Regions from separate parts of the Homo sapiens genome. Here all the other regions are linked to region 3. Evidence: promoter capture Hi-C in 16 types of primary human blood cells and fetal thymus (Javierre and others, 2016). All regions are on one chromosome and are shown on one strand. Each heading gives the region's core, a stretch centred on a gene start or on the middle of the fragment in contact. The rest is flanking DNA. Distances are from core to core; before and after follow the strand shown. Region 1 overlaps MMP10 (matrix metallopeptidase 10). Region 2 has its middle 6.9 kb from the start of MMP8. Region 3 holds the start of BIRC2 (baculoviral IAP repeat containing 2). Region 4 overlaps MMP8 (matrix metallopeptidase 8). Region 5 overlaps ANGPTL5 (angiopoietin like 5). Region 6 overlaps MMP27 (matrix metallopeptidase 27). Region 7 has its middle 25 kb from the start of MMP8.

Evidence for each region. Contacts are between HindIII fragments. The CHiCAGO score rates a contact against its expected background, and 5 or more counts as called.
Region 1: a contact is called between a fragment that was not itself captured here and the fragment with the promoter of BIRC2 in region 3, in 4 of 17 cell types (M0 macrophages, M2 macrophages, monocytes and 1 more). The highest score is 8.7, in M0 macrophages.
Region 2: a fragment that was not itself captured here is called in contact with the fragment with the promoter of BIRC2 in region 3 in 5 of 17 cell types (M1 macrophages, M0 macrophages, M2 macrophages and 2 more); the score reaches 18.2 in M1 macrophages.
Region 4: a fragment that was not itself captured here is called in contact with the fragment with the promoter of BIRC2 in region 3 in 5 of 17 cell types (M0 macrophages, M1 macrophages, M2 macrophages and 2 more); the score reaches 21.9 in M0 macrophages.
Region 5: a fragment that was not itself captured here is called in contact with the fragment with the promoter of BIRC2 in region 3 in 1 of 17 cell types (total B cells); the score reaches 5.6 in total B cells.
Region 6: a contact is called between a fragment that was not itself captured here and the fragment with the promoter of BIRC2 in region 3, in 4 of 17 cell types (M1 macrophages, M0 macrophages, M2 macrophages and 1 more). The highest score is 13.2, in M1 macrophages.
Region 7: a fragment that was not itself captured here is called in contact with the fragment with the promoter of BIRC2 in region 3 in 3 of 17 cell types (M1 macrophages, M0 macrophages and M2 macrophages); the score reaches 8.7 in M1 macrophages.

What each region holds. Positions count from the first base shown.
Region 1 is chr11:102,775,861-102,779,282 of GRCh38, forward strand. MMP10 (matrix metallopeptidase 10) reads right to left here. Exons shown (of 10, transcript NM_002425.3): 3 at 3,353-3,422; 4 at 2,764-2,889; 5 at 752-916; 6 at 420-564. Among named protein-coding and RNA genes, the nearest start is that of MMP10, 3.1 kb to the right of the region's middle. The HindIII fragment of the contact is 2,277 bases long and covers 840-3,116 here.
Region 2 is chr11:102,729,981-102,733,745 of GRCh38, forward strand. No RefSeq gene overlaps it. Among named protein-coding and RNA genes, the nearest start is that of MMP8, 6.9 kb to the left of the region's middle. RefSeq lists silencers at 3,346-3,395, 3,516-3,565. The HindIII fragment of the contact is 7,810 bases long and covers 1-3,765 here.
Region 3 is chr11:102,345,624-102,348,969 of GRCh38, forward strand. BIRC2 (baculoviral IAP repeat containing 2) reads left to right here and starts at 1,591. Exons shown (of 9, transcript NM_001166.5): 1 at 1,591-1,753; 2 at 2,975-3,346. RefSeq lists an enhancer at 2,143-2,212. The HindIII fragment of the contact is 3,484 bases long and covers 84-3,346 here.
Region 4 is chr11:102,711,042-102,714,849 of GRCh38, forward strand. MMP8 (matrix metallopeptidase 8) reads right to left here. Exons shown (of 10, transcript NM_002424.3): 8 at 3,515-3,668; 9 at 2,713-2,816; 10 at 755-2,416. The coding sequence ends at 2,307. Among named protein-coding and RNA genes, the nearest start is that of MMP27, 7.2 kb to the left of the region's middle. The HindIII fragment of the contact is 1,540 bases long and covers 1,523-3,062 here.
Region 5 is chr11:101,903,780-101,907,631 of GRCh38, forward strand. It overlaps ANGPTL5 (angiopoietin like 5), which reads right to left. Exons shown (of 9, transcript NM_178127.5): 3 at 3,324-3,468; 4 at 1,965-2,068; 5 at 1,035-1,128. Among named protein-coding and RNA genes, the nearest start is that of CEP126, 9.3 kb to the right of the region's middle. The HindIII fragment of the contact is 1,205 bases long and covers 1,989-3,193 here.
Region 6 is chr11:102,692,311-102,695,740 of GRCh38, forward strand. It overlaps MMP27 (matrix metallopeptidase 27), which reads right to left. Exons shown (of 10, transcript NM_022122.3): 7 at 2,657-2,787; 8 at 1,596-1,755; 9 at 628-731. Among named protein-coding and RNA genes, the nearest start is that of MMP27, 12 kb to the right of the region's middle. The HindIII fragment of the contact is 4,808 bases long and covers 1-3,430 here.
Region 7 is chr11:102,748,281-102,751,902 of GRCh38, forward strand. No RefSeq gene overlaps it. Among named protein-coding and RNA genes, the nearest start is that of MMP8, 25 kb to the left of the region's middle. The HindIII fragment of the contact is 325 bases long and covers 1,547-1,871 here.

The sequences.
Region 1 (3,422 bases), core at 728-3,227, 430 kb after region 3:
TATGATATTTTAAAAAAATGAACGAAACAGATATAACTCCCTGCCTTAATCAAACTTACAGTCTAGGGACCAAGAATCATCCCTTATAAGTCTGTAAAAAATGATCTGGACAATTCTAAGAAGATGTTAAAAATTCAGCAAGAACTAGATCTGAATGATTTTAAAATGTAGAGGAAATTTTATATTTTAAAAAATCTCTGTCAAGCAGAAAAAGTAACTACTGGGTACTAGGATTAGTACTGGGGTGACAAAATTATCTGTACAACAAACCCCTGTGACACGAGTTTATCTATATAACAAACCTGCACATGTACCCCTGAACCTAAAATTAAAAAAAAAGCTCTGTCAAGTTTCTGTTTTTCTTTCTAAGCACTGTACATCAAAAGAATAGATAGGAAAATATAATTTTCTGGTCTGACCTGTCTTTAAAGAACAGATATTCTCCCCTCAGAGTGCTGATGGCATCGAAGGACAAAGCAGGATCACACTTGGCTGGCATCTCAGATCCCGAAGGAACAGATTTTGTGGGCACCAGGGGTTCCTCAGTAGAGGCAGGGGGAGGTCCTAAAGGAAACAGATTTGGGGATGCAAACATTAAAAAAAAATGTGATGCATCTGTCAATTTGTGTGCCTTTCAAACATTCTCAAAGTGCTTCAGGCCAAATCAGAAATACTTTAGGTAGCACTGGAAAGCTTTCTGGAGGACTGTCATTGTAGATCTGCAATGCCTAATTTTTCCAGCATCACTCACCGTAGAGAGACTGAATGCCATTCACATCATCTTGCGAAAGGCGGAACTGGGCGAGCTCTGTGAATGAGTTGTAGAGTGGGTACATCAAAGCTTCAGTGTTGGCTGAGTGAAAGAGCCCCAGGGAGTGGCCAAGTTCATGAGCAGCAACGAGGAATAAATTGGTGCCTGTATGAAAATCATAAATGTTCAGAATTCACCAGCTCTTTCTTCCATAAATACACATACAGAACATATGCCAGCTGTACAGGCCATCCTTGAAACCACAATGTCTTTTCAGTATTTGTGGATTGGTTCATTGATTGGCACATTCCATACTTTATAGAAATTAATGTGTTTTTCAAGGTTGACTTTAAGTCAATATATAAGACAGTTTTTCACCGTATCCCTCCCTAGATCCCTCCTTGGTCAGGAAAACTAAGACACTTTTCCTATATTGACAAATGAGAAGCATTATTTTCAAAAGATTTTTTTTTGAAAGGACAAGACTAATAGCATGTCAGTAAATATAACTCTTCGTTGTCTAAAAATAAAAAGTCATTGTTCAAATTTAGGAACACTTGCCAGTTGCAACCTTGGTTAAAATTAATCATATAACATTTACGTTCAAACTTTTAAGCCAGAAGACTGTGGTTATTTCTTGTGGGGTTTAGTCTGATTTTCTCTTCCTCCTCTTCATCATACTCAAGTAATTTTTTTTTTTGAGACAGAGTCTCATTCTGTCGCCCAGGCTGGAGTATGTGTCCAAGCGATTCTCGTGCCTCAGCCTCCTGAGTAGCTGTGATTACAGGCACGTGCTACCATGCCCGGCTAATTTTTGTATTTTTGTTGAGATAAGGTTTCACCATGTTGGCTAGGCTGGTCTCAAACTCCTGGTCTCAAGTGATTCACCCAACTTGGCCTCCCAAAATGCTGGGATTACAGGCATTAGCCACTGGTGCCTGGCCATAATCAAATAATTTTTGATTGTCAAAAATCTTCCCAGTAATAGGTGCCATTGGATGTGTACAATCTTTAGTTTAAAACAGAAACATGCCCAATAACAGTTTTCTGCAGCACAAACACAGCTAGATTCAGCTTTTTAAAAATATTATAAAAAGGGTTTTATTGAATTTAGTAGTAGATATTATTTAACCAAGGCTCCAAGAATTGTGCAGAAAAGAACAGTTGTTCAAATAAAAGGCAATCATTTCATGCAACACAAACTTCAGTCTCGTGAGACAGAGTCTCACTCTGTTGCCCAGGCTGGAGTACAGTGGTACAATCTCGGCTCACTGCAGCCTCCATCTCCTGGGTTCAGTGATTCTCGTGCCTCAGCCTCCTGAGTCTTGTACTCAGGAAAGATGTTCTTTGCATTTACATTAAAAATCCCAGGCACTGTCAGAAATAGTGATTATTTCAACAGTGTGTTTCTAAACTTCAGAAGCCATTTTAAAAATTAAATAGCATACAGTTAATTTTAGTCATTATGTTTAGATGTAAAGTGTTTCCAAGCCAATTTAGGGCGAAAAAAACCCATCTAAGCTAGAGACAGTGACATGTTTATTCGAAAAGATGACCTAACAGTTTTTTTTCAGTTCCTGGCATTTTCTCCTGATCTCTACTTTTAAGTAAAAAGGAGGCCAATGAGAAGAAAGAAAGAAAACCTGAGGGCAAATGTTAGGATTGGAACTGGTTTAATGGAATTCATTCTATCCTAATCATCTATCATTAAAGTGATGAAAAACATTATTAATTATGCTGATCCTCAAACCCCCACAAGATCCTGAGTTGTGGAGATGAGGTTGAATGGTTTTTACAATATTGTACTTGGTGGGGGCAAACATGAAAATACAGACATTTTATAAAATTCTTCAATAATGATTGAAACAAACAGTACTTCTGTTTAAAACTCAGGTAATAAAAAAATTCAGTTACTAGTATATTCGATTTATTGCTCGTTCTAGATAATCCAATTATTTTTGGGTAGGATTGGACATTATTCCTGAAATGTTCCCGAGAGGTTTACGACCCACCTGATGCATCTTCTGTCCATTTTTCATCATCATCAAAGTGAATATCTCCATAAAGCCCAGGTCCAGGTGGGTAGGCATGAGCCAAACTGTGTCCTGGGCCATCAAAAGAGTAAAAGTCTCCATGTTCTGATAGGGAACAAATTAATGGAAATATAAGTGTTCAGAATTTCTTTTTACCCTGTTCCAATTAAACAACAGTAGATTCTATAGTCTGAATGTTGGTGTCTGCTGCAAATTCATATGTTGAAACTCAATGCCCAATGAAATATAGTATTAAGAGGTTAGGTCTTTAGGAAGTGATTATGTCGTAAGTGCTCTGCCCTCATGAATGAGATTAGTGCTTTTATGAAAGAAGCTTGAGGGAACCTCCTGGCCCTTTCTATCGTGTGAGGACACAGAAGGTACCATCTATGAGGAATAGGCTCTCATCAGACACTAAATCTGCTGGCACCTTAATCTTGGACTTCCCAGCCTCCAGAATTGTGAGCAATAAATTTCTGTTGTTTATAAATTACCCAGTCTAAGGTAACTTGCTATAGCAGTCTGAACAGATGAATACACCAGATAAATGGATGCTTTATTTGATTACCTTTAACTGCAAAAGAGATCATTATATCAGCCTCTCCTTCATACAGCCTGGAGAATGTGAGTGGAGTCAC
Region 2 (3,765 bases), core at 907-3,406, 380 kb after region 3:
GAATTCAACCCACAGATGAGGCTGATTAAAAGGCCTGCTGAGCAGCCGCCATGGTCCAGGCAAGTGAGAGAGTAGCTAGAGTGAGCATGGAGGATCTTATCCTTATGGTTTTGATTAGCCCCAAACATTTCCATTTCTGCCCCTGTATCTATTGTCCTCCCAACTAGAGGGTGTTGAGGATAAGAAAGAATGGAGAAAATGACCCATTGAGAGTCAACGACTGTCCAGAAACTAGTTTGACAGACCCACGAGAACAGATGGCAGAAAAGTAAACATTTCCATTCCAGGCCGCTCTGTGTATGTAGAGGCAGGAAACTGCGAAGTGGATTTTGCCAAAACTCTCTTTTCTACTAAATCAATCCAGCTGTGTGGCTGGAATGCCTCATTTTTCATTTTTCCTGAGGCACTGTCTTTTCTAAATCTTCTCCATTCTTGATTTTCTAACAATGTCTAGCTATAGCAAGGTATTACTTCCCACTTTAAGTAAATGCCCTCGTTTTCTCTCATTTTTACCACCAAAATATTCAATTTCTTAGTGTGTCCATGGGACTCTTTCTGTATCTCCACACCAGAACTATTCTCCTTACACATTCCCCCGCTATTTCCTTTCCCTCACTGGCTGCTTCCTGTTTGCCTACATGGTTTCTCTAGTAAAACAAAATAAAACCAAACAACAGACTTCTTTCTACCCTATTAATCACTTGAGTTACCATCCTGTTTCCTTTCCCTCACTGTCAAACTTCTTGGAAGCCCAGTCAGTGCCTCTACTCCTTCAAACCACACACCCGCTCCTCCTCACACCACACACCTACTACTCACACCACACACCTGCTCTTCCTCACACTACACACCCAATCCTCACACCACACACCTGCTCTTCCTCACACTACACACCCAATCCTCACACCACACACCTGCTCCTCTTCACACCACACACCCACTCCTCACACCACTCACTCCTCACACCACACACCCGCTCCTCCTCACACCACACATCCACTCCTCACACCACACAACCGCTCCTCACACCACAAACCCGCTCCTTCTCACACCACACACCGGCTCTTTCTCACACCACACACCTGCTTCTCCTCACACCACACACCCACTCCTCACACCACACACCTGCTCCTCCTCACACCACACACCCACTCCTCACACCACACACCCGCTCCTCACACCACGCACCCACTCCTCACACCGCACACCTGCTCCTCTTCACACCACGCACCCACTCCTCACACCACACACCTGCTCCTCCTCACACCACACACCCACTCCTCACACCACACACCTGCTCCTCCTCACACCACACACCCAATCCTCACACCACACACCTGCTCCTCCTCACATCACACACCTGCTCCTCACACCACACATCTGGCTCCCATCCCCCTTGGAGCCCAACCAGCTGTCACCCACATACGCCTGTTGGAGTCTGTGAGAATTCATCTCAATAAACTGTCTCACATCTATATAGTCCCCACTAGATTCTGTTCTCACTCCTCTTGATCAATGGTTCTCAACCTGAATTTATTTTTTAACCTAAAATATCAGAAAGACACCACATATGCCCTTTGGTGACATTGGCTTGTCAGGGGCAGTGGATTAGTTTTCCGCAGCTGCTGTAACATATAACCACACGTCCAATGGCTCAAAACAAGATAAATTCATTGCCTTACGATTCTGCAGGTCAGAAGTCTGGTATGGGTCTCACTGGGCTAAAATCAATATGTTAGCAGTGCTGTGTTCCTTCTGGGAGCTATAGAGGAGAATCAGTTTCTGTGTTGTTTCCAGCTTCTAGAGGCTATTGCATCCCTTGGCCTGTATTTCCACCTCTGCCATCTTCAAAACCAGCAATATCACTTCTCTCTAACCCTTATTCCATCTTCTTGTCTCTCCCTGATCACAGTTGGGGGAGGGTCTCCACTTGTGAGGACTCAGGTGATTTGATTGGACCCACTGAGATAATGCTAATCTCCCATTTCAAGGTCCTTAACCCAAATCACACCTGTGAAACCTCTTTTGCCATGTAAGCTAACATGTTCACGGGTCAGGATGTGGGCATTTTTGGGACCATTGATCTTTCTGTTACAGGCAATAATTCTCAATGAGAAGAGATGGAGGTAGTCAGTAAATGTGTAGACTGACTGCACAGGGAAGGGCACTTCAGGATCTGTGGTCTGCATGTGATTTGAAAAGCCCTTTAGGAGACCATGCCCTATAACTCCAGGATAACCTGCACCCACCCTGTTCTCCATTTTGACTTTCCATGCCAAGAATATGTGAGTATTTACTGAATACTCATTAGAAGTGAGGTACTGTCATAAAGGCTTTTGCAAAGTCACTTTTATGTAAATTTCTTAGGTATTACGTCTTTTAAAAGCAATACAGAAACTGAGGATCAGAAAGGTTAAGTGAATTACCTGAGATCACACACTGGCAGATGTGTAATGTGTGGCAGAATTTGGGAATCCAAGTTTGGTTTAATTCCAAGGCTCTTTCTGTTCAGTCTCCACAAAGTCTTCTACTGGAGTTGACCTTCTGCCTGAGTAGCTTCTTTAGTTTAAATGTCACATTAAGGTCATTATGGGAACTTTCTGACTCTTTCTTCCTCCAAATTCTACAGATGTGGTTGCCTCATACATCAGGACCAAACATCAGAGGAACCTGAAGTGACAAGCCCGAGGTACTCACAGACAGCCTGTTTCTCTTTAGCATGGGGAATGGAAATCCGAAGACCTGGGTTTGACTCCACTCTATCATTTGCTTGACCTTGCACAAGTTCCTTCATCTCTCTGTCTTAATTGCACATCCCTAATTGGCCACTTATTACTGTGGGACCCTAGACACAGTTCACTTCACATCCCTAAGTTTTAATTCCTTGCGTGTAAAATGGTGGTAACAATAGCCCTGACATCATAGGAATGTTGTGAAGATTAAATATGGATGTGTAGAAAATGTTTAACACAGAGTGCAAAATAACAGATAAAAATTACAGTTCTCTGGCAATTAAATATAAAAAAAAGCCTCACAGGATAGGAGCACTTTCTATATTGCTATATTGTTTTACGTTCTTATTTCAAAGCCGTGGGCTTTAAGGAGGTAATGCACGAAAAGCAATATAGAAAGTGTTGTTCAAACGATTTATTTTATTTTAAAAATCACTTATTTTTAAATAGTCTAGTAATACAAAAATACATGCTTATTAAAAAAAAAATTCCAAACTTTCAGAAGTACGGTAAGTAAATGTGAAGTTTTCTAACCCCCTTTCCCCCTACTTCAGTCCCCTCTTCTAGAGGTAACCAATGTTAACATTTTGAAATGTCTCCATCCAGATATTTTTCTATGGCTTAATGCTCCCAGAGTAAGCTGGTGTATAGCAGACGCAACCAGTGGCCTTCAATGAAGTCACGGATGGCTGAGACCTGTCACTCTTAGCCATGCTAGTGGTCATCATGCCCCCTGTAAAACCAGCAGAGGGCGCCAAAGTCCACTGGGGTATTCGGAGGGTGAACTGTTCGGTCAGATCAACAGTCTTCTTCGAAATAAGAATGTAAAACAAATAGATCCCATTTATCTCATTTAGTAAGGATGAGCCCAGGTTTTGAACTAGGTAGGTTAGTGGGAGAACTGGACATTAAAGACTTGGCCAAAGCTCATTAAAATGAATAGTTTGCTTTAGGTGAGAATGCAGAATGAGAAACTCCACAGTGGTCACAATGTTCCTAAGCACATTATTTTGTCCTCTGTTAACAGATCTTA
Region 3 (3,346 bases), core at 341-2,840:
TTATGAGGTACTATTTATTATATGTAAATATTACAAATATTTTTTGTTAAAAATATCTAAGGCTTTTGAGTTTTTGAAATGCAAGCTTTCCCCTATACTTAAGTATATTCATTATCTTACTGCTTTGGTCAGGACAAGAACTGAAAAAGAGAAATAATCTTGAGTTCAGAATGAACAATTCTTGCTATATATATTTTCCCACATGTGTTAGGAATGTTCTGTAAACCTTCCGAGAAATAGTGACTTGAACTAAATACTAAACTACTACCAAGCCCCAGGTGCATTTTTGGAAGTTTTTAGTCATTGGGAGCCATGGCATTTCTTTTCTCTGTATTACAAACTGTTACACTCACTTTCTTTGACTATTAACATTGGAACAGTAGACCTCCTGTTCTGTGACTGACTGGCAGGCAGAAATGACACAGACAGGAAATGGGAAATGGTTCAGGGTCTTGGAATTCCCCCGGCTCCCTAATTAAGTGGCTTGCTATTTGGAAGTTTTTTAAATATTTGCCCCTTGGAGTTCCCCAGAGAGAAGCAAGCATCGGATTCAACGGGCAAAGAGCGTCAACTTCAAAAGTCGTTCGTTGGTTGTCATACCACAAACATTTACTGCACGACACTGTGTCTATGGCACTATTGGGGGAGTATGGCGGGGGGATACAAAAGGTCCATGACTAGCAAAAGCCAAGGGTTTTTATTTACAAATTTTCTATTACCTAAGCATTAAAAAAAATTGGGCTCCTCTCTGGTTTATGTACAATTATATGTGCATGTACACCAATACACAGGCAGACGTATATATTTCATTTTATTGAAACATTCAGAAAATACTGGGAGTGAAGCCTGACTTGCAATACAGTTCTCTTTGCTGGCAATGAGCATCTGAAATAATGACACTTTTTTCTTTAGTGCATATGAACTGTTTGTCTCCAGAACAGAAAACCAAAAGTTTAAAAACAAGATACTCCCGTTGACATCAAGTCTTCAGAATTATTCATCTGATGCTTCCTAGTTTCCAAAGTTTCGCTTTTTTCGATTTGCACAGGCAGCTGTTGAACGCTGATGCTACACAAACGGTTACAATTGTTTACTTAAGCAAAAAATGCCACCAGACTGACTCCATCCTCAAAATGCAGTCATCTGGACGGGGGGAGGCATCACACTTGGGGAGCCTTGCCAGGGGCCAGATCATAACCCTGAGGTGACACAGGGTAGGACGCGCAAAACCACCGGCGCCAGGGCGTTTCCGCAGGGTTTCCCAAAACTCAAACGCAGCGGCTCACGGTTTGCCACGTCCCCCAGGAGAATGGTAGACACAGAGAGGAAATGTGGAGAGGGCACAAACCGCAAGGTGAAGAAAACGAACAAACACCGAGTTGATACGGATAGTCCCCGTTCCCCTGAGGGCCGACCCCGTGACTCCCGATGAGCGTCCAGTTGCGCCGGGCATCCTGGCCTCCCAGCGTCTTTCCCGGAGGTTCATCGCCGCACGGCGGAAAGCGCTCTCGGTTCCGCTTTCCGGCCCCAGCCTCCCGGGCGCCCTCGCGCGGCGGCTAACGCTGGTCCTCGGCCGGGCGCGCTGACGTCATCGTGCGTCAGAGTGAGCCCGGATGGGGCGGCGGGCTTCGGGAGCGCCCGGGCTGATCCGAGCCGAGCGGGCCGTATCTCCTTGTCGGCGCCGCTGATTCCCGGCTCTGCGGAGGCCTCTAGGCAGCCGCGCAGCTTCCGTGTTTGCTGCGCCCGCACTGCGGTGAGTGCTGCTCCTTCCGGGCTCGGGCGGCGTGGGGCGGGTGGGGACGCGAGGGCCCGCGGGGGCCCACTTCCCTGATGTGGCGGCGAACGAGGAAGGACGGGGCCTGAGGCCCTTCGGCCAAGGGTCGAGGGTCGCCGGGGGCTCTCTGCTTTCTACTCTCGCCAAGGTTTTATTGGATTCGGAAGCCCCAACTTCGAGACTTGCAGTCAAAGCGATTTTTAAAATGACTTGTTTTCAAGCCTCTGGCCGCCGCCCACTCTTCTGGCCCTTGGACTTTGACCAAGATGTTTTCTCGCAGTTTTTGCAAGGTTTTAAACTTAGCCCTCGGCGTTCTTTTAATGTAATACATTGAAACGAAGATATTTCGGTGGCGGCGATATTTCATATTTCATAGTTGCCACTGCGCTCTGTCATTCCAGTAGTCGTCTGTTGTGTATTGTGAGAAGCAACTCTGGGAAATTATTGGGTAAATCCCATAGTTTCTATTCTTTTCCCTTCCATCCTATCCCCTGCCCAGCTGCAATTTGCGTAAAGAGAATGCAGCAGTGCGGTGCACGTAGATAAAAATCTTTCATTTAAAGATAGGATATAAGACCGGGTGTAATTAAAGCAATCATGCCAGTGGTCGTAGTGCCGGAGCCACTGTTTCACAGGCCACTGTGTTAGGTTTTGTTTTCGAGTTGCTTTCTGTGGTCGTTGCTTTGAAATTGTAAGGGAATGGCAGAGTTTAAGAGTTTATATTAATGAACTCGTGGTGCATTTTACTGCAGTTTTCCTAGTCGTGGAGAGACTTGATATTACAAACTAACGTTGCTGTCTTAATTCCTGCTGTACTGCTGCTGACAGGGTGTAGTGGAGTGTCTGTCTGTCTTTTTAACCAATGTGCCTTTGCCTCCAGCAGAGTGCCAGAGTTACCTTTAGGCCAGAAAAGGGGAGGAGAGCAAGGACAAAATGTTTCCTGTGTGAAAATTTCCATCTGTCTCTGAAGTTGTGCGTTTTAAAGACACGTATAGTTAGTGCTATGGGGAGTATGTTGCATTTACTTATTTTAATTAATAGCTTTTTCATTTAGAAAGTTGTGACAAATTGCTGGAATTAAGATGTATTATCTAAAGTGTGAATTATTCTTAGACTTTACTGAATAAATTGAAGAGTATGTAAGTTCTATTTGGCATGCACATACAGTTTTCTAAAATACTTTTTGTTTTTTCTTTTCAGATTTACAACCCTGAAGAATCTCCCTATCCCTATTTTGTCCCCCTGCAGTAATAAATCCCATTATGGAGATCTCGAAACTTTATAAAGGGATATAGTTTGAATTCTATGGAGTGTAATTTTGTGTATGAATTATATTTTTAAAACATTGAAGAGTTTTCAGAAAGAAGGCTAGTAGAGTTGATTACTGATACTTTATGCTAAGCAGTACTTTTTTGGTAGTACAATATTTTGTTAGGCGTTTCTGATAACACTAGAAAGGACAAGTTTTATCTTGTGATAAATTGATTAATGTTTACAACATGACTGATAATTATAGCTGAATAGTCCTTAAATGATGAACAGGTTATTTAGTTTTTAAATGCAGTGTAAAAA
Region 4 (3,808 bases), core at 1,043-3,542, 370 kb after region 3:
CAATGTAATAGCTGGAAAATACTACATGTTGTCAACAAGATAATTTTTTTAAAAGGAATAACTCTGAATTCTTTATTACACTTCATATTACAGTTTACTGTCTATGACTCTGTCAAATGTGGTTAAAAAATAGTATGAGATCAGTCCTCATCTCAAAGATGTATAGATGAGGTTTGAGCCAAGAGTCTATCATAGCCAGCACAACTAGCAGGTGTTCTGAGAAGATAAGACACTCATTTTCATGCCTGCATTTTCCTAAAACTTTCATAACTGGCATTATAGAAAGTTTTAGGAAACATGATAGTCTGAAATTGATGCTACTATTAAAAATGGAATATTCAATTCTTATAGATCCTTTTGCATTTGTTACGTTGATATGATGAATCGCTTATACATCTCTCTCACTTTTCTTAGCACAGTCCCTGAAACATAATTAATAGTAGGTAGGTAGTTAATTCTTGCTGAATAAATCAATGAATGGAATGATAATATATACTTGTTTCAGTTTTCTTATTTTGTAAAATAATTTGAGAATAATGTATTAACATACTTGAGGAAATTTTTGAGGACCTCAAATATTTATAAAATATTTCACACACTCTGAAGCAATATCTAAAGTTTATTATCAATATTATAATAATTCTGACACAAGCATTATATATCTGCACAACATCTAAAATTTGCTATTCCTTTTTATACTTTAGATGAATTATGTGGTAACATTTTAAGAAATTAAAAGCAAATCACAAATCAGTCATTTGAAGTAAAAATCTTTAATTTGAACTTATTTAATAGATTATTTTAATTTTTGAACAAGCATAAAGGTGCCAATTTAATTATCTGTGGGATTTAAAAACTTCAACAGAGAAAGAAAATAGGAGGTACTAGTGAGAAATATATTTTACAGTCTACATATTTATTGTATAATAAGCTATATTATATTCTAATAACAGCAAATATAACATTATAATGATTTTGATATCTGGACTCGCTAGACTTGGTCCCATAAATCCTATAGTTCTTAACAAAAAAACCCATCCGTTAGCAAACTTACACATCTAAGCTCAGTTTAATGCAACTTAATGAGACATTGAATTTTATGCAGCTAACCCAAGTTATCTATAGTGTGTGCCCTCCTGAGTACCCCAGGAAATAGAAGTAAAGAACTGACGAACATCAGATCCAACTGGCCCATTTGGGTTTGGACTCTAGGAGAGAGCAAGGAGGAGGCAGGAGAGGAAGTGGTGGTTCTCTTTTGGCTGCTGTCCTGGGAAGATGCCCAGTAGTCCTTAGCAAGGGTTCTACTTCTGCATTCTGTGTTGATTCATTTTCATATGTGTAGATGTACTGTGTCTAGTACCTCATGTCTAGGGTTGCTGTAACAAAGTATTGCAAAGTTGGTGGCTTAAAACAAAGGAAATTTATTCCCTCACGGTTTTGGAGGATAGAAGTCCGAATTCTGCAGGTGTCAGCAGGGTCACACTTGAAGGCTATTGGAGGGAATCCTTCCTTGCCTCTTCAAAGCTTCTACTGGTGGCTTACAGTCCTTGGAATTCCTTGGCTTGGAGATGCGTCACTCCAATCTCTGCCTCTGTCTTCATACGGCCTCCTCCCCTAGGTGACTATGCCTCTCTTCTTCTTATAAGAACAACAGTCATAATGGATTTAGAGCCCACCCTAATTCAGTGTGATCTCACCTTAACTTAACTAATTACATCTGCAAAGACCCTGGTAAGCTCACATTCATGGGTACCTGGGGTTAGAACTTCAACATATCTTTTATGGGGGACACAATTCAACCCACGAAACATATCATCTACATTTCTTTCCAAGGGTAGAAAACAGCACCATATTTTCTGTAAAGGCCAAGGGTACTGTCTAGGTTGTTTATAATCCTTACTTCTAACCAAAATCTAGTTCTAAATTGCATGTAGAAGATATACATAGGACATTTTAAGAAACTGAGGGATGTATGAAGTCAGATAGGCAAGTAATATAACAATAAATCCTAGAAGTCAGATATGTAAGTATTGAAATAGTAAATATTGAGGTGACAAAAAGGCTTACTTTCCTTCTCTTTGATGGAATCACTAATGTAAGATGGAATGTGTAAGAACTGAATAAGCCTCTGCAAATAGTGGAATATTCCAAACATATTTTCACGGAGGACAGGTAGAATGGATACAGTGATGGGAAACAATGACTTAATATTGAGAAAAGTATAAGCAGGACACAATGTAACGAAAATGCTTGCTGAACTTCCCTTCAACATTCTGAAAGTGGATACAGCCACATTTGATTTTGCTTCAGCCATATCTACAGTTAAGCCATTTATTGCCTCTTGCAACTCTGGTAACTCTCTGAGCAATAAGATCAAATGCGTAATATCTTGGTCCACTGAAGACATGGAAGAAATCTATAAAAAAAGAGAGATAATTTATTGAATTAGCTTATAGAATATCTCAGATGTCTTCAGTTAGAAAACCCTGCCCCTGTTCCAACATAACATTCAAATGCAAACATGCTATTTAAAAAATTTAAACACCAGGTGCGGTGGCTAATGCCTGTAATCCCAGAACTCTGGGAGGCTGAGGTGGGAGGATTGCTTGAGGCCAGGAGTTTGACACTAACCTGGTCAGCATAGTAAGACCCTGTCTCCTCTATAATAAACAAACAAACAACACATTTATTAGGTTTTTTTTTCCTACTTACGTTCTTGCTGGAAAACTGCATCAACTTTACTCTCTATTCCTGGAAAGGCACCTGATATGCTTTTGGGATAACCTGGCTCCATGAATTGTCTTTGGTTATCATATCTGGTAAAAACAAAATGTTATCCGATTTAACACCAATACAGAATATAACGAAAAAAATTTTTTTTATTGTATATAATTTACAAAGTCTCCTCACACATATTTTTTCATTCAGTTCTCACAATGCCCTGTTTACTAGGATTAAGAATGGTTAATTTCTCTACCTAAGGGTACACATTTATAAAACATATGGTTATCATTAATTCTAAAACAGGCTTGATGGCTGACACACTGTTATTACCCAAAGTAAGCTTATATTTTCAAGGCTTTTACTTAATTGGTATATAGTATAACTCCCTTGTGTGTGTATATAGATATATAAACATACATAATAGGTTCAACTTGGGAACCAAATTCTGCAGGCTATCTGGATAACATTTGCTTGCATATGTCTGAGTTGAACTCATAAGTGAGAATTAGCTTAAATCTTTCTTTGTATCTCACCCTAGTGCTTTGTTAAGGTTTTCTTTGTTTCTTGATGCAGAATCCTCAATACTATTGCATAGACATTTTAATTTTATAGAAATGAAAAATTTCAAAAGCCATGGTAACATCAATCATCCTGTAAAAAAGAATATATTCTCGGTAAAACCTATTAGAGACTATCTAGATTGTTTTAAACCTTGAAATGCTTGAAGGTTTGTAAGCAGGGTAGAGAAACACAGATTTCAACCTATAATTGAAAAAATAGTTTACGTTACCTCCAGAATTGGTCATTTACAAAGAAGTATGTTTTACTTCTGTAGAAAACAGCTGCGTCAATTGCTTGGACGCTGCTGGGGAAGCCATAGTTTGATATATCCTTGGGATAACCTTGCAGAATATCATAGCCACTCAGAGCCCAGTATTGGTTGCCTGTCAATGATTCAGGTTAAGTGTTAAATACGACTTTTCCATTTTTACAAAATTATATATATATATATATATATATATATATATATATATATATATACCACTTCTTGGTCTTGCACATAGATATGAAAATGGAACAAATA
Region 5 (3,852 bases), core at 1,341-3,840, 440 kb before region 3:
AATGTGAACAGATTATTTCGATTTTTCTGGGCTGGATATTTCTTATCTGATGATGATGATCATAGCAAGCAAGCCCTTATATTGTTCTGCCTGTGATTCGGGCATTTTTTTTATTTCCTTGTGATAAACATTTGATTCGGGCAATATTTTAAGAGACTTTCCTGTATTTATTCACTTAATCCTCACATCAACTGTAAGAGGTAGGTACTATCAGTTTACTGATGAGAAAACATATCAAGAGAGCAGCAAGCAAGAAATTTGAAACCAAGGAGTCTGACATCAGAGTCCATGCTCCTGACTACCACATTATGCCTGCTTTGGGGCAGTTATGAGATATAATAAAATAATTTTAATAACAAAATAATGTGAGAAAGTGCCTGTCTTCCTACCTATCACATAGAAGATTTTTAGGCACTGTTTATTGTCTTCTTTTTCGAAGAAGGACATAAAGATCATGTTCTAGGCCCTCAATAATATTTATTTGCTTTAAACATTTGGGGATAAATTCATATTTATAAGATTTATAGGGTATTTTTCTTAGAAGTCCAAACCTCTAGGAATTAATATGCTGTATTTTAGTATAAAAAGTGCTAACTTTCAGTTTATTCTTGTCTTACATTTCTTTTTCTTTTCAAATTTTATGCCCCAATTTGAAACATTTCAAACATGTCAAAAACATTTTTTACAGGTGGGAGGAACTTTGAAACTTTCTTTTCTTCTATCTGAAGATGAATTATTAATAAGATATAAACTGGGAGTCCAGAACAAAGCTATAGAAAGCTATGTTATTTTCAACAGCTTCAGGATATCTTTATACAGCCATGGCTTTCACATGGTTGAAAAAGTTTCCCATTTTAAGAAAGTACACGTTGTCTATGGTGAAATTTGCTTAATAGCAGGTATTAGCCCTCCAGTCTGTTAGAGAACGGTGAGCTGTAGTTTTTAAATAAAACTTTTAAATGGATCGACCTGTCCAGGAAAATTTTAAGCAATAAAAGACAAACATGAAAAGGCTGAAATACCAAAGTTCTCACCATGTGACTGAACAGGTCTGTGAGGAAAAGGATCCAGCTGTTTTCTAAAAACTTCTGTAGTCAAAAGGAGAACTCTATTCATGAGCTCGTTAACCTAAACACATGCATACACATTTAAGTAAATTTATATTTGAAGAAATTGCCATCTCTAAGCCTCTCATAAACCCAGCTCTGAAATACGTAATGGTGCCCATTTTTCTAGATTGATTTCTTACTGCTTTAACAAAGAATAAAGGCAAAGCTAAATAGCAATCATTAAATTTCGTAGTATCTACCTCCTTAACGTTGATTTTATCTGCCCCGATTTCTGCATTTGGCTGCTCTTGCACATCTGCCCTTCATACCTTGTCCAAACCATTGCTGTAGTTTCTTACCTCCTCCTTTGGCTCTTCCTCAAGTCATTGGCCACACAAGTTAATCAGATTGTGGCATTTCCTTGCTTAAACACTACAGTGGCTCCTTGGTGTGGTATGACTTCGTTCTTGCCTATTCCTATAGTCAGTTTTCCTTAAATACTCAACCTCACCAGCCACTCCACCCTGTACCAACACCAAGAAGTTTCCCCAGAATGGAATGTCCTCTTCGCCTTACCCAACCTTTATGATTTTTAAAACATTTATTCATCCTTCATGACTGTTAACAGACTTTCTCCTCTGGGAAGCTTTTTGTATCTGAGAGTTCTCTTTTGTGCCATTCTAGCAACCACATTTTTGTCAACACATTTTAATGCTCCACTAGACCATACCCCTTGAATTAAGTTCGATTTTTTTACTGCTTTTTGTTTGCCTAAAGTTTACTATGGTGCCTCTAACATGGTAGGCGCTAAATAGATGTCTGAACATGAATGCATTTTAAAAAAAGATTATACCTCCAGCTAACTATACATCAACGTGTACATGCAATAACAACACAATACTAAAACATCTATACCTGATTAGATAAATAATCCAAGGAAGCTTGTTGCTCATCCATCATATTCCTTAGTAGTTTTTTGGTACTTCTTGTGTAGGAAACAATAGAATTTTGCAAATTTCCTTAACCATAATAAAAAGTGGCTGTTAAATATTATATTGTTACAGAAAACAATTACAGTGAAAAATAGTGAATTTTACCTGATTTTGGATATGTATGTTAACTCAATACTATCTCAATTTATCTTAATACTCAGAATTACATATTTTAGTTAGTATATCTTTTGTTTAACTCAGGATTAACCCCAGAAATGATTGTCTCAATACTTCTTAATGAAACTATGCTTCCTACTAATATAGATTACCCAGAATAATTAATCTGTTATCATTAAGAGACAGTGTTCTGATTATAAATTCTCACTTTATAAGATGAGATATATAGAGGCAGGAGTTATAGGATTCATCAATTCTTACTGTAAAAGAAAGTTAGTGGTGACAGTTTTATACCAGGCAAGTTAATTTTAAAAAGTACATCTTTGTTTTAATTTTTCTATTAATACTATATTTACACAATTAAATTGCTAGCACATACATATACATACACATAATAAATGTTAGTCAAAGGTTTTGGTTATTTGGTTTCTGACTAAACATTTACTATACATTTTCCTTTTAAAAATGTTTTTATCTTAAGAGAAAATTTCTTATAGCGAAGTTGCGATAACAGTACAAATAACTTTTTCCTAATGCCTTTGAGACCATGTTGCCATGATGTACCGTCATGCTATTTCAGTGTATATTTCTTACACCAAAGACATTTCTAATAACATACCACCAAAATTAGGAAATAAACATTCACTACCTATATTTCTCAGACCCTATGTGAGTTTTACCCAAGATAGTAATAATGTTGCCCCCTATAACAAAAGGGCCCACACACTATTACGTATGTTATTCTTTAAAATTTTATTTTCTAACTTTCTTTCCACCAGCAGTAGAATCACATTAAAAAATCTTGATATTTTTAATTCTACCTCACTCTGCTTCCTCTCTCTTTCTTATTTTCAGTCTGTCACTTTCTATTAGCTTTTTCCTGAATTTAGCCATCTGTCTTAATAGGTCTAAAGCTGCACTCATTGGTTTGAGAAGCCTGAGACCCTTTTGTTGCACACAGAATTAGCTACATAGAGAAAGGATCCATTCATTTACCAAATATTTATTAAGCACCTATTATGGGCCAAACAATAAAGCTTCTGGCCTAGGATGATCAGGATGTATAGAAAATGACCCAGACAAAAGCTAAAGTATACTTTTCAGTGTCTACCCTAAAAATAATGAATCATATACTCTTATTATTTTGTTTATTTTTAATACTTACTACACATGAAATGTTTTTCTTCTCGTGTAATTTTAGTTTTAACATCACATGATTCCTCACAGTCTTCCTTACAAACAGTATCATTACTTTTACTTTCATCTTTTGCATTAGATCCATCTTCTACAATGTTAACTACTGAAGAGTCCTTTATATTAAAAAATAGAAATAAGAAAAAAATACATTAAACATGTTATATGACCTAATACATAATAAAAAAGACTATAGAGAAAAGCTTAGATTTCAGGAAAGACAAGGCTGATCATTAGAGAGAAATATAAGCTATTTAATTCAAACTTCCACAAATAAACCTGATGAGTAAATAAAATCAAACGGACCAATTTCTTAATTTCCTGGGTAGCCACTCACAGGACAATATTTGAAATATGAAAGTTTGTGGAACAGCTTTTTTTTTAAGCAAAGTGATTTTTTACTACCTATCAGATATTTCATTGAAAAGTTGTGGGCTAGTTTTTAATCTAGGCCTGAAATGTCTTCAAAATATTTTCATATCTGTTGAATCAATCCTCAG
Region 6 (3,430 bases), core at 663-3,162, 350 kb after region 3:
GAAAAGGCCCCTGTGGATATGGCCTTGGTCTCTATATTCTCATTTTCTTAGAGCCGTTCTACTTTGATCTGTTTTAGGTTTTGAGGTTCTGTGTTAGATTTCATTGTAATAATAGATCATGTCACTCAAAGATATTTCTAGATTACCCCATGGTCTAGGTCATTGTCTTGGATGATATAGTTGCTGGATTGTATTCATTACATTGCCTGAGGTTCTTTTAAAACTGCAGATTCTTAGGTATCACTCACAATTCTGCCTCAAATACTTTGTTTCACACACAAACCCCAAGCTATGTACATTAAGGTACATACATTAAAGTTTGAGAATCATTGTTTTGTTCATGTGCTTAGTCACTTCGCACACTTTAGGGGGTGTCTTTACTTATCAATGATGAGTAAAATGGATTTGGTACTTTTTACATAGATTTGAGATAGTATAACAGAGAGTATAATTCAGGATTTATGGATTCAGTTTGTGATAATGTTTGTGGGGTTAATGTTTATTATTGTATATACTTAAGAGTAGCAAAATTGCATTAAAATAAAAGCATTTAAGTTTTTGTGCTGTCTTTTTTCACAGTCAACACAGTCTCTCAAGTATCCCAATAAGTGAGACATCCATGCTTACCTTTGTACTGGAAAGCAGCATCAACACGGATACTGATTCCAGGAAAGTGTTTTACCACTCTCTGCGGGAACCCTTTGTCCATGGTTTGGGTCATTTCATCAAACCTGCATACAAGAATATGAAAGGATACCAGCGGATCTTTGGTTTGGGGAGCTTAATTTGTCTACCGCACAACTTAGAGTCAAGCAGGGATGTGGGGAATACATAGGCATAGTAGAGGAAAACTAATTGGATCAATAATAAAAATACAGTAAAGATTATGTTTGGTTGAATCATTTATAGAATCTTCCAAACAAGAAATGATCAGGGAAAAAGGGCACAACATATGTTAGATTGATGCTATTCAGAGAAATCGTTACATCAGATTGAAGGCTGAGCTTGGAGCTTTCAAAATTTTTCACTAGATATGTTTGTGTCATTGGCAATTTGGTTGGGATCACCAACTTTTTATTTTATCTTATCTTTTTTTTTAAATTGAAGGAAAGTCATTAGACTCATTGAGATCTCTTTCGGCTTGATAAATGTCATCCACTGCCTTCATTATTCACTTTAAGAAGACTATGGGCTGGGCGTGGCGACTCATGCCTGTAATCCCAGCACTTTGAGAGGCCGAGGTGGGTGGATCGCTTGAGCCCAGGAGTTCGAGACCAGACTGAGAATCATGGTGAAACTCCATCTCTACAAAAAGTACAAAAATTAGCCAGGCGTGGTGGCACATGCCTGTAGTATCAGTTACTTGGGGGTTGCTGAGACAGGAGGATCTCTTGAAAGCAGGAGGTCGAGGCTGCAGTGAGCAGAGATTGCAGCACTACACTCTAGCCTGGGAGACAGAGCAAGACTCCATCTCAAAAAAAATAAAAAAATAAAAAATATTATGGATTCATTTTAATTTTGTCTGTGTCAAAGTGATGCTATTGTGAATATTTTTCTCCATAATAAAACAAAGTGTCAATTGTCTGTAAACTTACCTCCAGCACCAAATGCCCACAAAGAAGTAGGTTTTTCTTGTGGTCTTATCACAGACGGCTGCATCTATTTTCTTCACACGTCCTGGAAAACCTAATGTATGGATGGATTTGGGATAATCTGGCAAGACAGCATATCCTCTGATCATCCAGAAGTTTTCATCTAGGAAGAGAGGAGTGATTATTTATTTTCTAGAGGGAGAAATAGGTATCTCAAGAAATTTAAAAATCATTAGATACCTAGTTCCTTTTAGCTTCAGTGCTTAGAGATTTAATAATCTTATGTCCACATTCATTCCTACCACTTTCTTTAGCTGCTCATATTATTTATATTACACAAATAATATATACCTGTAAAAGTCAATAGTATGCGTACCTTTGTCAATTGGTTTCATTGCATTGATTGCTTTTAATTGGCTAACTCTGTCAAAACAATCAAGTAAGCAATGCATATATGTATTTAAACATCACATTGTACCCCATAAATATGTACAATTATTATGTCAATTGAAATTTTTAAAATGAAGTATGTTTGGACATGTTCTCCTAAGTTTCAGCCCCCAAGTGCTCTCAAAGGCTAGTAATCTGATAAGATCATGATCATTAAACAGAAAATGTCAGTTAAATTTGATTTCAAGTAAACAATGACTAACTTTTGGTATAAATAAATACAAAATATTTTAAGGGATATATATATATACCAAAAAATTATTTGTTGTTTATCTGAAATTTATAGTGTCCTATATTTTTATTTGCCAAATCTGGCAACCTTAGTAAAAAGTGAACATTAAAGACAGATTAATTACCTTTATTTGGCAGAAAAAGAGACTTTTTTAGTTTTTATCACACAGGTTTATTTTAGTCCCTGTGCAACTAGGATTGTGTTTATCTTCACAGCCACAGAGAATCCTGGTTATTTATATTCTTTACGACAGGAACCTAAGATGAGAGCAAAAGCCCTGCGCCTTGGCTCATGCATGAAGATTTTATTTCTTACACCAAAATATCCACTGGTTAGTTCAGGCAGCCAGAGGGAGAAGAGGAATCGGGATGGGCCAGGTTACCTTTAAAAACCAGAATCTTATCTCTGGGGTTCTCGTATGCAGCTTGCAGATCAGCTGGCAGAGATGGCCAGAATGAAGCAATTAATTCAAACTCAACATCCGTGATATCATAATAGATCCTCCATAGGTGCCTGTGTTAAACAAAAAACACTTTACACATGCAGCCTATTTCCATGTCAATGAGAATTTTGTAATCTTAGGCTTGCCTTTTAGCTAATTGGTTGGTATCTTCCTCAAATAATTGAGATAATTAGCATAATTTTCCCCAGTAAATTTAGGTGATTGTGAGTTCAGTTCAGTTTGGGACTTCCAAGTCCAGGACATGCCTTTGTGCCCACTCTTGGATCCGTAGAGTGGCAAACTCATCATGGAAATCTTATTCTGAGTTCTGAGTGCTCAATGGTTTTGTTTTTGCCAAAGCAGCAACACCCAACATTCTAAGCCAACACCAAGCATTCCTAAGAGGAACTTTTTGAAGCAGATGCTTGCTGGAATAAAGAAATGTAATCACTGACATGCGAAAATACTTCTTCAGAATTTCCCTTCTGGCTGCAAAATTCTGAGTCTATGAATGAGACGTGAAAAGTCCTTATATTCCATTTCCCTCCACATACAGGCCACTCCTCTGTGACATTCATGGTGGGTAGCTCTTGGCCTCTGCTGGTCAGAGAATGGTGGTGATAACATGTGATTGTAACGCGATATATTCATGGGTGAAAGGAGTCCAATTTCAAATATTCTTTCCTTTTGCCCCTATATCTTTGTCAATGGTGT
Region 7 (3,622 bases), core at 459-2,958, 400 kb after region 3:
AGGTTTGGTGCTTATGTAATCCCACAGCTTTTGTTTGTCTGGGAAAGTCTTTATTTCTCCATGTTTGAAGGGTATTTTCCCTAGATATACTATTCTAGGATAATTTTTTTTCCTTCAGCACTTTAAATATGTCACGCTACTCTCTCCTGGTCTTTAAGATTTCCACTGAGAAGTGTGCTGCCAGACATATTGGAGCTCCTTTGCATGTTGTTTCTTTTTTCTTGTTGCTTTTAGGATCCTGTCTTTATCCTTGTCCTTTCAGATACTGATTACTAAATGCCTTGAGGTAGTCTTATTTGGGTTAAATCTGCTTGGTGTTTTATAACCTTCTTGTACTTGATATCTTTCTCTAGGTTTGGGAAATTCTCTGTTATTATCCATTTGAATAAACTTTCTACTCTAATCTCTCTCTCTCTACCTTCTCTTTACAGTCAATAACTCTTTCATTTACCCTTTTGAGGTTATTTTCTAGATCTTGTACGTATGCTTTTCTCTTTTGTCTCCTCTGACTGTGTATTTTCAAATAGCTTGTCTTCAAACTCACTATTTCTTCAGCTTGATCAATTGTGCTGTTAAGAGACTCTGATGCATTCTTCAGCATGTCAATTGCATTTTTTAGTTTCAGAATGTTTGCTTGATTCCACGTAATTATTTCAATGTCTTTGTTAAATTTATTTGATAGGATTCTGAATTCCTTCTCCATGTTATCCTGGATTTTGATGAGCTTCCTCAAAAGAGCAATTTTAAATTCTTTGTCTGAAAGGTCACATATCTCTGTCTCTCCAGGATTGGTCTGTGGTGCCTTATTTAGTTTGTTTGGTGAAGTAGTGTTTTTCTGGGTGATCCTGATGCTTACAGATGTTCATCAGTGTCTGGGCATTGAAGAGTTAGGTATTTATCATAGTCTTTTTAGTCTGGACTTGTTTGTACCTGTCCTTTTTGGGAAGGCTTTCCAGGTATTCCAAGCAACTTGGTTGTTATGATCTAAGTCTTTGGTCACAGCAGCCATATGTGCTTTAGGGGGCACCCCAAGCCCAGTAAACCTGTGGCTCTTGTAGACCCACAGATGTACCAGCTTGGTAGTCTTAGGTAAGATCTAGAGGAATTCCCTGGATGACCAGGCAGAGACTCTTCTTCTCTTTCCTGACTTCCCCCCCACCCCCCTACCCACCAAATTGAGTCTCTCTCTCTCTCTCTCTCTCTCTTCCTCCATAAGAGCTGACTGAATTCTGCCTGGTGTTGCAACACTAATGACAGGGCAACACTAAGTTCCAATGCAAAGTCTCACAATCACTGTACACTCCCTCTTCCCCTAGTGCAGATTCTCTCTTCATGCCATATGATCACTGCAGGGGGATAGGAGAGGGCTGGTGTAGGTCATTCAAGACTGTCTTTCCTACCCTTTTCAGTGCCTCTTTCCTTAATATGATGTTAAAACCAGGTAGTGTGATTGCTCACCCGATTTTGGGTTCTTATGGAGTTGCTTTTTTGTGTGAATAGTTGTTCAATTTTGTGTTCTTGCGGGGGTGTGAGGACAACTATTGGAAGCTTCTATTCAACTATCTTGCTCTGCTTCCCCTGAAGACTATTTGTAATAGCCCCAAATTGGAAACTACTTATATGTCCTTCAACATAGACTGGAGAGATAAATTGTGGGAAATTATTCACTCAATGGAAACTCTACAGCAAAGAGAATAAATGATCAAAAATTACATAAAAATATATTGATGAATCTCATAAATATAATGTTGAGTGACAGAAGTCAGATACTAAGGTATATAATGTATAATTCCATTTATTTTAAGTACTGAAAGAGATAAAGCTAATCTATGGTATTAGATTAGAAGTTAGGATAGTAGTTACCCTTAGAAAGCTTAGTACCTGGAGAAGGGATTTGGGGATACTGGCAATTTTCTTTTGTGTGCTGGTTACTTGGTTGTGTTGTGAAGAGTCATCAGCTATATACTTATGATACATGGCTTTTCTGTATTCATATTATATGTTGATAAAAGTTACCTTTTTAAAATATATATACTAAATCTCACTCTACTGCCCAGGCTGGAGTGCAGTGGCGCGATCTTGGTTCACTACAACCTTCACCTCCTGGGTTCAAGTGATTCTTGTGACTCAGCCTCCCAAGTAGCTGGGATTACAGGTGCCTGCCACCACACCCGGCTAATTTGTGTATTTTTTGTTAGTAGAGATGGGGTTTCATCATTTTGGCCAGGCTGGTCTTGAACTCCTGACCTCAAGTGATCTATCTGCCTCAGCTTCCCAAAGTGCTGGGATTACAGGCGTGAGGCACTGTGCCCAGCCACTTTATTTTTTATACGAAGTTTAAGTGTCTGTTTTCTTTAATATGTGACAGTGTTGCCATGTACATGTAAGGATGATACAGTTTTACGCTGTTTTTTCTTTGTTGAAACTGAGGGCTGTTATTGTCTTGGGTGGATTGAGATATGCATCCCATATGTGCAGCTGCTCAGGTTAAAGTCAGAGTCTTGGACTCTAGTAAAAAGCTTTTTTCTGTGAAAACCTAAGGATGACCTTGATTGACAACCCTTAGTACTTGCTTAAAACTAACTTATATAAGTTCATGAAGCAATATATTCTAGCTAACATAGAATATGTTCAGATTGAAGTTAAATAAGATTGTATTTCTATGTCTCTGCCTTGTGTTACCAAGAGACTGAAATAAAATACTGAAATACCTGGTTTCTTAGAAAAGAACATATTTTGGGCTCATTAAAAATACTTTTTATTTTCTGTTTGGTGATAGTCAACCATCAGTTATTTCTGCACTTGAACCAGATGTTAGCTTTCAGGAGAGTCAAAATTTGCTTCATTTTAGGATTACATTCATACTGCCTTCTTCTACAAAAGAAATAGAAAAAACCTAGAAATAAAAGAAACTAGATAATGATTTTTCACATGAACTCTTGAAAATATCATATTTTTGTGTACACAGTTTACTGTCTTATCTATGTAACACTAAATGTGTAATTTTATGATAGTGAAATGAGGAAATTGAATGGTCTTTACCTTTATTTTTCAAAACAGGTCAATTTTTTTTACTAATTCCGGGGAGGTCATCAATGATTTTGGGATAACCTGCATCCACGGACTGCATATTTTCATCATACCTGGTAACAAAAAATAACTAAAAATATCACATTGTGGTTAATATAAAAACAATAAAAAACACTTAACTTTCATGTAGAACTTTCCATGTACTAATCACTGTCCTAAGTGCTTTTCATATGAAGATTCATTTAATTCTCACAACAAATCTGAGAGGTAGGTACTGTCTGTGCCTCAATTTTGCAAAACCCCGATGGCTGCTTTTAAAAATTATGGGTGGGTACATTGTTGGCATGAAACTATTAAGAAATTTTAACTGGGAGGGAGAGTGGGGCAAACTAGACAAACTCTAAGTTATTCTCAACCATAAAAATCTGATTCAAATTTTCCCTTGGGCTCCATGTTCTGTCCTATCAAGGAGAAATGCTTCATTTTCTCCTTTTTGGATGCCTCTAGTCCCCTTTGTGTGTTCTGCTCTTTATCTCCTTTTCAAATGCAAGCCAACAAGTTCCTTGCCTTGCTAGGCAGCAGTGTGATAACA